2 separate regions of the Homo sapiens genome follow, and region 2 is linked to region 1. The links are contacts of gene promoters, found by promoter capture Hi-C in human tissues and cell types (Jung and others, 2019). All regions are on one chromosome and are shown on one strand. Each heading gives the region's core, a stretch centred on a gene start or on the middle of the fragment in contact. The rest is flanking DNA. Distances are from core to core; before and after follow the strand shown. Region 1 holds the start of MTRF1 (mitochondrial translation release factor 1). Region 2 has its middle 97 kb from the start of ELF1.

What was found. The method cuts DNA at HindIII sites, captures the fragments that hold promoters and counts their contacts. A contact is called where the count stands out against the background at its distance.
Region 2: a contact is called between a fragment that was not itself captured here and the fragment with the promoter of MTRF1 in region 1, in 1 of the 25 tissues and cell types used here (aorta).

The regions. Positions count from the first base shown.
Region 1 is chr13:41,260,410-41,267,348 of GRCh38, forward strand. MTRF1 (mitochondrial translation release factor 1) reads right to left here and starts at 3,167. Exons shown (of 10, transcript NM_004294.4): 1 at 3,076-3,167; 2 at 84-506. The coding sequence starts at 498. RefSeq lists an enhancer at 2,585-3,085 and a silencer at 3,373-3,462. The HindIII fragment of the contact is 6,309 bases long and covers 1-6,094 here.
Region 2 is chr13:40,919,227-40,926,165 of GRCh38, forward strand. It overlaps the pseudogene TPTE2P5 and the pseudogene SUGT1P3. Among named protein-coding and RNA genes, the nearest start is that of ELF1, 97 kb to the right of the region's middle. RefSeq lists enhancers at 2,497-3,083, 2,727-2,776 and a silencer at 4,687-4,981. The HindIII fragment of the contact is 5,567 bases long and covers 934-6,500 here.

The DNA.
Region 1 (6,939 bases), core at 1,917-4,416:
TCTGTACTTACACACACGCATATAAGTGTGTGGTTTTTTTTTTCATAGCCCTTATGCAGGACACATAAGTATCTTTTACCTACTTTTACACATTGATTCTAATTCTTCAATTGCTTGTTCAGTCTCCTGAATTTCTTGGTAAATGGCTGCAAGAGGTGCCAACTCAGCATGCCTTCTGTTCAAGGACCTTCGGTTTTCCTCATTCACAGGGATATGCTGCAGACATTGCTCAAGTGTTTGGTACTCCTTACTCAGGTTCTCCATATATTTCTGTAGTGCTTTATGCTTCCAGAGCATCTTGGTGTCTTGATGGCAATATCTCCTGGACCAATTCTTACTTAACAGATGAAGAATGCAATTCCTGTTTTGTCTAAAAACTTGCAGCCTTGTATCAAGATGTATCTGTCTAAATTGATGAGAATGGAGCTGGATGTGACACTGGAGGTAACCATTAAGAGATGGATGTCTAAAAAGCCAAACACACAGGTGACGATTCATCTCAGCATCTGAAATACAATAAACACAGTCTTTAAAAAAAAATCATCTCTAAAGATACATGCATAATAAACCTGGAAGGAACATCAAGAAATCTTGTTTCATCTACTGCCTCAGCCAGCTCCACAGTCTTAAAATTCAACTGCCGGCTGGCAGCAGTGGCTCACGCCAGTAATCCCAGCACTTTGGGAGGCTGAGGCAGGCGGATCACCTGAGGGCAGGAGTTCGAGACCAGCCCAGCCAACATAGTGAAACACTGTCTCTACTAAAAATACAAAAATTATCCGGGCGTGGTGGCAGGCGCCTGTAATCCCAGCTACTCAGGAGTCTGAGGCAGGAGAATTGCCTGAACCCAGGAGGCAGAGGTTGCAGTGAGCCGAGATCATGCCATTGCACTCCAGCAAGGGGGACAATACCAAGACTTCGTCTCAAAAAAAAAAAAAATTCAGCTGCCTACAGAAAGAACATAATTCTTCAAATGTATGAATAACATATTAAAATAAATAAAAACAGCACTGCTTCCTACCTGTTCAACATATATAATTAACTGAAGCATATGAGTAGGAGTACAACTAACAAATATATCAATTGAATGAGTTAAGTCAGTTATTTTCTAGAAAGTATCTAGAATCTAGAATTGAGTGTGTAAACAAGCTCTTGAAAGCTATGAAAACATACAAACTTAAGGCGGTTCATAAAGTCATTTTCTAAAGTTTGAAGAAAATATTATTATCTTGTATAATTCTTTAACTTTAAGGATCTAGATATCCAAGGAAGTCAAGTAACTTAATCACGACTATTCAGTCGGCTGGATGGAGACAGAGCTGGTATTAGAATGTAAGTTGCCTGTTCAGGACTCAGTAATTTTCACTCTCAATTGTGCAATCACTTTTCAAAAATGCTTCCCGTTTAGCTGAGATCCTAAAGGAAGAAAAGTTCAAGTATTAATAGACCAAGAAAGTAGGGCTGGTGAAAAGCTCTACAGTTATATTAAATGGTGACAATTATATTAAGCAAGAAAGGCAAGGAACAAAATAGAATCTCAATTACATTTAAAAAATATTCTACAATATAAGGTATACATGTAAAAAAAAAAAAGCACATAGAGTATTTTTTAAAAAGAAAGTTAAATAAGAAACATACCAAAATGTGCCGAGCACAGTGGCTCACGCCTGTAATCCTACCACTTTGGGAGGCCGAGGCGGGCAGATCATCTGAGGTCAGGAGTTCGAGACCAGCCTGGCCAACATGGGAAAACCCCATCTCTACTAAAAATACCAAAAAAATTAGCTGAGCGTGATGGCACACACCTGTAGTCCTAGCTGCTCGGGAAGCTGAGGCAGGATAATCGCTTGAACCTGGGAGGCGAAGGTTGCAGTGAACTGAGATCGCACCACTGCAACCAGCGTGGGCGACAAAGCAACACGCTGTCTCAAAAAAAAAAAAAAAAAAAGAAACATACCAAAATGTTAATAAAATGATCTCTAGTTGTGAGATTATGAATACCTTTTGCTTGCTATTTTTTCTACTTTTCAGTGTTTTCCAAGTTTCTTGCACATGTAGCATGGAATACTTTCCTAATCATAAAAAAAGATTAGTTTAAAAAATTACAGGTTAGGTGAAATTGGCTGTGTACAATAATTTTCTGTTCTCCTCCCCTCCAACAGAGATAATCAAGAGCTAACAAAAGTACACAATGGTCTTACTGAGTAAGAAAGGGAGAATATAAAGTGTTCTAAGAAAACTCTAAGGTTCAAAGTTGAAATAAGGGTCAAGCCACGCACAGTAGCATGCACCTATTGTCCCAGCTACCCAGGAGACTGAGGCAGGAGGATCACTTGAGCCAAGGAGTTCAAGGCCAGCCTGGGCAACACAGTGAGACTCAACTCAAAAAAAGAAGGATCAACATTTATCAAAATCAAACTTTACTGTCTCCAGTGATCCTACTATGCTAGGAGGTGCATTGATATATTAGCTCATTTGTTCACTATAAGTCTGTTAACTTAGCATTATCACCTAGGAAATAAAATAGTCAGAATGGTCTTTAAAATATTCAGTTTCCAGAGTTCTACTGATAGATTTTAGGATACTGCATCACATTATTAAAAGAACTGTTGAAGAAAGCACCAATGGCCAGCTGTCACAAACGTTACACTCCACCACCCCCGTATTTCAAGCACGTTAGAGAAAGTGTATCCATTTGCTAACAGACAGAATAAAAGGATGACAAATATATGTTTGTACGAATACTTATTGCTAAAATTTCCATTTTAGGAACAGTAGTAGAATGCATAATTTTCAAGGTCATGAATCTCAACATTAAGGAAAACAAAACAAAACAAGATGTTTACTCTCCAAGGTTAACTACACCTGAGAACAGCACGACTTCTCCATTACCCATCACAGTAACAGTATTACTCTGATGCTTTGGGGAAAGTTCTGAGTGTAGGCAGGTCAGAAGCGACAGCCCGCGGGGCAGCAGCACGGGCAAACCATGCTGTGTAACTCAGTATATGGAGTGATTCCATAAAGAGGCAATACAGGAGGCGGCGGGGAAGATCAGGAAAGAACTGTGAGTACCTAAGAAAAAGAAGAATACACGTTAGCTCTCTTTACTGAGGTCGGAACCTTCCGAGACCCGCCACATTTCAGCCCGACAAACCCGAGATCACGTTCACTTCCTGGTTCACTTCTTCCGGGTTAACGCACGCTCCCGGCCCCTCCTCCGCCACTACCGCTCTCCGGAGGAGTTGTCCTCGAGCATGCCTAACAATGGACTAAAATGACAAAAATGAGCTAAATGAGAAAAATGACAAAACGAGAATGAAATTGTCATCAGACAACCGCCCCCGCGCCGTCCTTATCCAGAGCGTGAGCCCAGAGCGGGGATGGAGATGGTGGGAGGGAGGGAGGGAGGGAGGGGCCAAGGTGGGACTAAACTACAACTCCCAGAGCGCCCACCAAAGAATCCTGGGAGTTGTAGTTTACCTTGCGGCAGCCTCCAACCCCCTCCACTCACTATCCAGCCAAATGTGGAGTTTTTGGTTTTCACCGTTAACTGCAAACCTAGAAGAGAGATTCTTTACGATTCTGATTAAGAGATCAAGATTTAGAACACATTGCATGTGAAATTACAATAATTTCCTTATGTATTAGAAGCCCGTAAAGCACTGTTTTCCAATATTTAAAAAAAATAAAGACTCCTTTTACATCATCCACAAATGTAGAAGATTCTGCGTGTAATTTCTATACTTTCAGCTTCCATTGCTTCAGAAAATACCTAATGACTAAAGGATAATACAAATAAATTTATATTTTAAAAGTAGTAACAGCCCCAAAAGTTAGGAGACCGTGTATTTCCACATGTTAGTGATTTTATAATGTTCTTTGCACATGGGAATGTAGGGGCTCAACCTAGATTCATAGCTTATGAACCACTGATTAAGTGAAGAATGAAAACTCCAGTTAATAAACAATTGCAGGAAAATGCAAGCATATTGTCCTACTTTGACTAATCCAGTGGGATCCAGCCCTTGGCTATCGCAATTTACAGTCTTTCTATCTCCATGCCTCAATTTTTCTTCCTGAAAGAAAAGGCAAAAAATGTACCATATTACTGACTTTACAGAGTATTTTCTTAGATTATAATCACATACATAGATAGGAGAATTAGCTATATATGCAAAATAATATCTAACGTTTATAGCCAACTTCAAGGTACCTACTTCTATGTACTATGTACTAAATACTGTTCTAAATGGTTTTACCCTATTAATTCATTTAATTTTTACAACCTTAAAATACTTATTTTGCAGAGGAGAAAATTAAGGCACACAGAGCTAAAGTAACTACTCCAAGGTAAAAAACAGTAAGTGATAGAGCCAAGACTCAATTAAGGCAATGGCTTTAATGATCTGTGGCTCCTAAGCTCTGATATAGGGCCACCCTGCTCCAAAAAAGAAAAAACCTTCAATCATGTATTCAATAAATAGTGAACACCAGTTATGTGCTATTCACTATTCTAGTCATGAGGATTTAGCAATGAACAGAAAAGACAAAAACCTTTGCCCACATGGAGCTTATGTTCCAGTAGGGGAAAAGTTTCAAAGGGTCTACATAAAGTCATTCTCCTAAGTTATCCAAAAAGTTCTTTAATTATTTATTCTGATTTGTGCTTTCAGCTATATAACTTGAGTATTATATATAAAGCTTTATTCTCCTTAAAAAATTAGTCTTAGTCGGGCGTGGTGGTTCACGCCTGTAATCCTAGCACTTTGGGAGGCCGAGCCAGGTGGATCACCTGAGGTCAGGAGTTCGAAACCAGCCTGACCAACATGGAGAAACCCCATCTCTACTAAAAATACAAAATTAGCTGGGCGTGGTGGCTCATGCTTGTAATCCTAGCTACTCGGAGGCTGAGGCAGGAGAATCGCTTGAACCCAGGAGACAGAGGTGGCAGTGAGCCAAGATTGCACCATTGCACTCCAGCCTGGGCAACAAGAGTGAAACTCCGTCTCAAAAAAAAAAAAAAGTAGTCTTACTGCTATGGACTGAATTGTTTATATTCATAATCATGTGCATATTACTAATATTTATTTTTAAAATTCATATATTGAAGCCCTAACCCCTCCAATACATGTGTCTGTATTGGAGATAGGGCCTTTAAGGTGATTAAGGTCAGATGAGGTCGTAAGAGTAGAGCCCTGACATAATAGGATTAGTGCCTTTCTAAAAAGGCACCAGAGATCTTGCTCACTGTCCCTGCCCAAACAAAGAAGAGGTTACGTGAGTACACTGTGAGATGGTGGCCACCTACAAGCCAAGAGAAGAGGTATCAGACTGAAACCTACATTGCTGCCACCTTGATGTTAGACTTCCCAATCTCGCAAGAGGCTAAGAAACAAATTTCTGTTGTTTAGGCCACCCAGCTGGTGGTTTTTTGTTTTTTTGTTTTTTTGTTTTTTGAGGTGGAGTCTCGCTCTGTCACCAGGCTGGAGTGCAGTGGCCTGATCTTGGCTCACTGCAACTTCTGTCTCCCGGATTCAAGCAATTCTCCTGCCTCATCCTCCCAAGTAGCTGGGACTACAGGTGCACACCACCACGCCCAGCTAATTTTTGTATTTTTAGTAGAGATGGGGTTTCACCATGTTGGCCAGATGGTCTCAATCTCTTGACCTTGTGATCTGCCCACCTCAGCCTCCCAAAGTCCTGGGATTACAGGCATGAGCCACCACACCTGGCTTTTATTTTTTTTTAAATAGAGATGGGGGTCTCACTATGTTGACTAGGCTGGTCTCAAACTCCCAGCCTCCTAAAATCCTGGGATTACAGGTGTGAGCTACTGCACCTGGCCCAGTCTATGGTTTTTTGTTATGGCAGCCAAGTTATTCTGACTATGCAGAACAACTTAGACATTTAGAACTCGGGCTGGGCGTGGTGGCTCACGCCTGTAACCCCAGCACCTTGGGAGGCCAAGGCGGGTGGATCACTTGAGGCCAGGAGTTTGAGACCACCCTAGTCAACACGGTGAAACCCTATCTCTGCTAAAAATGCAAAAATTAGCCAAGCACAGTGGCACGCACCTGTAATCCCAGCTACTCAGGAGGCTGAGACATGAGACTCACTTGAACCTGGGAAGTAGAGGCTGCAGTGAGCTATGGTGCCACCTCACCCCAGCCTGGGTGACAGAGCAACATGCTATCTCAAAAACAAAAACAAAACAAAAAACAGTGAGACTTTATCTCTTAAGAAAATTACAGCTTTTTAATATTATCTAATGTCCAGTCAGTGTTCAAATTTCCCTGTGATGCCGGGCGCAGTGGCTCACGCCTGTAATCCCATCACTTTGGGAGCCGAGGTGGGTGGATCACGAGGTCAGGAGATCGAGACCATCCTGGCTAACACGGTGAAACCCCATCTCTTCTAAAAAAATACAAAAAAATTAGCCGGGCGTGGTGGCAGGCGCCTGTAGTCCCAGCTACTTGGGAGGCTGAGGCAGGAGAATGGTGTGAACCTGGGAGGCAGAGTTTGCAGTGAGCTGAGATCAGGGGCCACTGCACTCCAGCCTGGCCAACAGAGCGAGACTCTGTCTCAAAAAAAAAAAAAAAAAAAAACAAATTTCCCTGTGTCAGATTTTTTTTCTCTTTTTTGTGGCATTTTGTTTGTTAATATCAGGATTCAAATAAAGTACATAGATTGCAATTGGTTGTTATATTGTTGGTTTATTTTAATCTTTAGATTCTCCTTTTCTTCTTTTTTTTTCCTTGCAATGTATTTGTTGAAGAAACTGGATCCTTAGCCCTGAGGAGTTTCACACAGTTAAGATTTTTCTAGACTTGTGGTATATAATGTGTCCTTTGTTCCCTGTATCTCCTGTAAACTGGTCTAGAAACTTGATCAAATTCAGGTTTAAATTGTTTTTGGCAAAACTACTTCATAGCTGTG
Region 2 (6,939 bases), core at 2,467-4,966, 340 kb before region 1:
AAAAACAGACTGCCTACATTGAACGAACCACCTACTATATGATTCTGTTTATGAGTCAAGAACAAGCAAAATGAGCTGATGGTGATGAAGGTGAAAACAGGAGTCAGCAGGACAGTAAGAAGAATTGCTGGCTGGGAAGGAGCATGAAGGAACTTTATAAATGGAGATGCTCTATATCTTGATCTGGGTGGTGTACATATACGTAAAAACTCATCAAACTGTAGAGTTAAAATTTGTGTTATTTACATATTATCATATATGTCTCAATAAAAAATTTAAGGCTGGGCACGGTCATACCTGTAATCCTAGCACTTTGGGAGGCTGAGGTGGGCGGATCACCTGAGATCAGGAGTTTGAGACCAGCCTGGCCAACATGGCGAAACCCCATCTCTACTAAAAAGTACAAAAATTAGCCGGATGTGGTGGTGTGCACCTGTAATTCCAGCTACTTGGGAGGCTGAGGCAGGAGAATCACTTGAACCTGGGAGGCAGAGGTGAGCCGAGATTGTGCCATTGCACTCCAGCCTGGGTGACAGAGTGAGACCCCGTCTCAAAAATAATAATAATAATAAGTAAAATAAGATGGAAAATGATAATGAAGTTCATTATATTAATATTCTTTAAAAGCAACTTTTTTTTTTTTTTTTGAGACAGAGTCTCTCTCTGTCACCCAGGCTGGAGTGCAGTGTCATGATCTCAGCTCACCGCAACCTCCGCTTCCCAGGTTCAAGAGATTCTCCTGCCTCAGCCTCCCGAGTAGCTGGGACAACAGGTGCATACCACTACACCTGGCTAATTCTTTTTTTGTATTTTTAGTACAAACAGCGTTTCAACATGTTGGCCAGGCTGCTCTCCAACTCCTAACCTCAAGCGATCCGCCCCACTTGGCCTCCCAAAGTGCTGGGATTACAGACATGAGCCACTGCGCCCAGCCTAAAAGCAACTTTTATATAAACTAGATTTCCAAAGGAAGCACTAGGCCTAACATGACAATTAAGAAATGTAAATTCAAAGTAATAGCTATCTAATATAAGGAATTATGGAGAAAAATTCTCACTGCTTCCTGTAACATTATCCCAAAACTGATCCCAGAAGACTTATTGCTGGTATCTAAAGGTCTATATATTTAGATTCAAAAAACATACCTGGACCCCAAAAGGCCTTACAGGACCTGGCTCCTAGTTTCCTGTCCAACCTTACCTCCTAATCAAATGGGCCCTCTAATAAAAAAGGGCCTTTTTGCTGCTCCATACACAGGCCCACTTCATTCCTACTTCAGGATCTCTGCACTGGCTCTTGGTCCTGACTGGAATGCTCTTTCCCCAGAGGTTCCAAGCTAATTCTCTTGTTCCTTCAGGTCTCTGCTCAAATATCACCTTAACAGAGCCTCTAGTACCCTGTGGCACATTTCTTATAAAAGCCATAGCTAGAAAAGACGCTGTCTTGCCTCAAATTGTTAACCTTACTTATGTTAGATCATAACAACAAAACAGGGTTTCCTTTTTTTCTGTGCTTTAAAGCAAAAAGAAACAAACAAAACAAAAAACAAAAAAGATCTCCTGTTAAAATTCTGTGACCCACAGCATCATTTATCTTTAGCTTAGTCTCTTCTTCAACTCTTATCAACTCTTGCTCTTTTACATTCCTTTACAGCTTTATAGTTTGTCTTCACTGCACACCTACAAGCAGTGATCTCTAGGTTAGCTAAGTATATAACTAAGACTAACCCATAGCAATGAGCGCCTTTGCACACAGCAACTCCTAAAAAATTTTTTGATAAATAAACAAATGAGTGAATAATGAACTATGACAAGACATCTGGAAAGTTTCCGGGACGTGAGGGAAGAGGTTTTTGTTCCAGTAGACTGACTTCATACCGACACTTTTACATAAGAATGGCAACAATGATTGTCAAAAGAAAAAATTAATTTTCATCGAGCCCAGAGTCCACTTTTCTCTTCTAGTCATTAAAAAAAAAAATCCTTTCAGCCCAACTGCAGATGCCAACCATGCTCCCAATAAATAGAGGAAGTTTTTCTCAGAAGCTTCAGGAATGCAAGAGTCTGGAAGTGGAAAGGGCAAGACAGGAGTCTGAGGTAACGCGGCTACCGTGAGAGAGAGAAAGGAGACCGAGAATCTCAATACTGGGGCTGAGACGCAGCATCACTAGAGCCTGAGTCCTAATCAGGCGGTGCTGGAAGGAGGCGGGTCAGCCGGGAGTGGAGGAAGCAGAAAAGGCTCTCCCACCTCTAACGCCGCCTGGGGGTCCTGGTCGATTAGAGCATCTGAGAAGCTCTGGAAAAACCTGTCAGGAAAACAACGACTTCAGCAGGGCCCACTAACCAAGGAAAGGGGTATAAAATAAATAGCAAAGGGAAGGAAAAACACGCACCTCTGGGATGCTGCAGGTCCTGCGGCAGCCGCCGCCATTCCTCGTAGTCAATGTTGCTGCCGCCGGAGCTGCTACTATCGCGCTCAGCAGCTCCGCCACCGACCAAGGGGGAAAACTTCTGCAGAAACATCAACCGAGCTTCCGTCTTAAGCAGCCAACGAGCAGCCACGCAGCGTGCTGCTAGCGGGACGGGAGGCGACACGCGGGCGCGTGGCCGGCTGGGACAGTGGAGGACCGAGTCCTCCCAGCCCGCAACCCGGCCCGGGACCTGCGCTCCCAGTCCCCGCCCATCGTAGCCATGTTTACGGAGGCCTGGGCCTACAGGTTCTCCCTCTTTTCCACCGCGCCCACGTCCGCGGGCACTCCGACCGAGCCTCCAGGAGTAGTAGCTCAGAAGCACTTTTGTAACATACTGTTATCCCTCAAGAACGTGTACGCGCAGGGGCGTTTCCTTGTCCGTTAATAACACAAGCTACAGGCCGAGCGTGGTGGCTCACACCTGTAATCCCAGCACTTTGGGAGGCCGAGACGGGTGGATCACGAGGTCAGGAATTCAAGACCAGCCTGGCCAAGATGCTGAAACCCCGTCTACTAAAAATATAAAAACTAGCCGGGCGTGGTGGCACGCGCCTGTAATCCCAGCTACTCGGGAGGATGAGGCAGGAGAATCCCTTGAACCCGGGCGGCAGAGGTTGCAGTAAGCCGAGATCGGACCACTGTACTCCAGCCTGGGCGACAGAGCAAGACTCCGTCTCAAAAAAAAAAAAAAAAAAAAAAAAAAAAAAAAATATATATATATATATATATATATATATATAAAACACAAGCTACTTCGAGCTCCGTTTTCCCTGGGTTTTATCATGGCTTTCGTCTCCGTGATGTCACTGGCGGCTGCGTGGTCTTTTCAGTGAACAGAGGGGCCTGGATGGCGCCTGGATTCCCGCGATCATTGCGCTGGGAATGGAAAAGGGCTGGGACTCGCTAGAAGTCGTTCTGACCTAGCAGCGGCTAAAAGCCTTCTGGTGCCCGGGGAGACGCGCCCGGCGCCCGCGTACTATTCATTCCCTTCCTCATAACTCCACAGCCCAGGCTTTCTTCTTAGTGGGCTTCCCAGATCAAGAAGGAAAACCTTTTCTATACGAAAGCACTGAGGGGCGGAAGGTGGCCTGAAGTGATCTCAGGGCCGCTTTGTTTCCCAACCCAGTCGTTCAGGTCCTCCCTCAGCGCCCTTTGACCCATGCACATCCCATGGGGAAAGCTGCCAGCGCGTTCCAGGGGTGGGGTCAGATTGAGGAGCTGGAGGGAGTGGTCTTTATCTGACTTTATACCACTACCAAACTGTGTTAATTAACGTAGCTTTATAATAAGTCTTGAAGTCCTTTATTCTCCCAAGATTGCTTTGGCTTATTCTAAGGCCATTGTATTTCTAGGTGATTTTGGAATTAGCTTGTCAGTTTTAAAAAAAACAAAACTGCTGGGACTTGTACTGGGCTTGCATTGGATCTATAGATCTGTTTGGGGATAACTAGTATATTAACAATATTAAGTCCTTCAATCCATTTAAGTGGCCGTTTATTTAAGTGGCCTCTAATTTCTCCTGGCAATGTTTTGTAGATTATACACATATTTATACTTTAATGCAGCTGTGTTTGGATAGACTGCAGTATAGAGATCAAACATATCTTTCATTAGATTTCTTTTTGAATAGTGTTTTGAATGCGATGTTAAATAGCATTTTTTAAATATTCTCGTTTGTTGTAAGACTATAGAAACGCTATTGATTTTTACATATTGATGTTACATTCAAGCATCTTGCTAAGTTCCCTTATTATTTGTAATACTGTGTAGAGTCTTTTGGAATTTATGTGATGACAATCTTGCAATCGTGAATAAAGATGGTTTAACTTCTCTGTAATCTTTATACGTTTTAGTTTTGTTGCTGGCTAGTATGTCCACTATTGAATAGAAATAGTGATAATGGACTTCCTTGTCTTGGTTGTAACATCAAGAGGAAAGCATTCAATATCAAGTGCTTTTTCTGCCTTTATTGAAATGTTCATATGTATTTTTTAATAATAATATGTTATATAGTAATTTTAAAAATATTTTTAATAATAATGTTACAATGTAACCAATTACATTGGTTAATTTTCACTTGTTATCTAAATGGCCAGTTGTCCTTCCAGATCCCCATTGATTCCGATTGGGATGGTACTATAGGAGAGGCAGAGCCAGCTAAGGAGATATAAGGTTTATTCAGGACTTACATACAGGGGTGGTCCAGTGGTGGTGGGGTGGCCTGGAGAACCACTACTGTTCATAAAAAAAAGCATGTAGTCTATATAGCATTTTCACTTAGCACCCTCCTTCTAGCAACCTCCATTTAACCCAAAACAAAGGGCCTTGCTCCACTGTACAGCCTGTGTTCTAAGAGATGGAGCAGGGGTGTGGATGTCTTTCATAGATAAGGAGTGAATCTTAGTGTTGGCTACTCCTGGCTTCCTTAGCCTAGGACTCCAAACACACTTAGAATAGGGTTATTCTCAGTATGCTCCAGTTATGGCTCAGCCATACACCAAGGTGTGTACACCAGCCCCTGCCATGCACCAATATGCATATAAATATGAATAGCCTCTGAAAGGGCAAATTCCAAGATTGACCTATAGGTCCAACATGAAAAGTTCTATATTAATAGCTATGTCATGGCCAGGCGCAGTGGCTCACGCCTGTAATTCCAACATTTTGGGAGCTTGAGGTGGGTGGCTCCCTTGAGGCCAGGAGTTGGAGACCAGCCTGGGCAGCATGACAAAACCCCATCTCTACTAAAAATACAAAAATTAACTGGGCGTGGTGGTGAGCACCTGTAATCCCAGCTACTAGGGAGGCTGAGGCACAAAATTGCTCGAACCTGGGAGGCGGAGGTTGCAGTGAGCAAGGTGGCACCACTGCACTACAGCCTGGGCAATAGAGTCAGACTGTCTCAAAAAAAAAAAAATAGCTGTATCATGGACATTGAAATTATGAGATTCCAAAACTACCACCAGAATGGCTTAAATTAAAGGACTTCCAATACCAAGCATTGACAAGAATATGGAGCAACTATATGTTTCATATATTGTTGATGAGAGTTTAAATTAGTTGATCATTTTGGAAAACTGTGTGACACGGTATTAGTCTGTTCTTGCATTGCTATAAAGAAATACCTGAGACTGGGTAATTTATAAAGAAAAAATGTTTAATTGGCTCATGGTTCTGCAGACTGCACAAGAAGCATAGCAGCTTCTGCTTTTGGGGAGCCCTCAGGAAGCTTCCAATCATAGCAGAAGGCAAAGGTAGAGCCGGCATCTTACGTGGCAGGAGCAAGAGCAAGTAGGGTGGGGGGAGGTGCCACACACTTTTAAACAACCAGCTTTCCCAAGAACTCATTCACTGTTGCGAGGACAGTACCAAGGGGGATGGTACTTAATCATTCATAAGAAACCCACTCCCATGATCCAATTACCTCCCGTCAGGCCCAACCTCCAACATTGGGTATTATAATTTGACATGAGGTTTGGGTGAGGGCACATACCCAAACTATATCAGACACTATCTACTAAAGCTAGTTATACACATAACATACTGCCCAATAATTGTACCACTGGGCATATACCTGAGTATTTATGATCATATACAAGAATATTCATCGCAGCATTATCCACAGTAGCAAAAACTGGAAATAATCTAAATGTCCTCAAATTGGATAAAAAAATTACATAGCAATGAATAAGAATGTACTACTACTATACCAAACAATATGGATGAATCCTATATACATAAGTTGAGGTAAAGAAGCCAGACAGAGTATATCATGATTGATTTCATTTATATGAAGATAAAAAACTGTAGTGAGAGGTATCATAAGGGAATCTCCTGGTTGTCAGGGAGGGTGGGGAGCAGGGGCATGAAGAAACCTTCTTGGATGCAGGAAATGTTACATATCTTGATCTGGCTGGTAATCACAGAAGTGTATTGAGACATAAAATTGTATCAAGTTATACACAAGATTTGTGCAGCCTGGGTGCAGTAGCTCATGCCTGTAATCTCAGCACTTTGGGAGGCCAAGGCAGAAAAATTGCTTGAGCCCAAGAGTTCAAGACCAGCCTGGGCAAGATGGGGAGAACTTGTCTGTACAAAAAATAAATAAATAGAAAGCATTAGCCAAGCATGGTGGCATGTGCCTCAGCTATTTGGGAGGCTGAGTCAGGAGGATCGCTTGAGCCCAAGAAGTTGAGGCTATGATCATGCCACTGCACTCCAGCCTGGGCAACAGTGCGAGCCTCTTTGTCTTTAAAAAAACAACAGCAACAACAACAACAACAAAAATGTTTCACTTTATTTATTTTGCAGACTAGCTTGGGGAGAAATGATATCTTTCCCTTGTATTGCCTTTTCCTGTCCATGAACACAATTGCTTGCTTCATTCATTCCGTTTCTCATATCTTTTAGTAAACTTTTATAATTTTCTCCATAAATTCTTGGCATCAGTTTATTGAAACCTTGGGAGG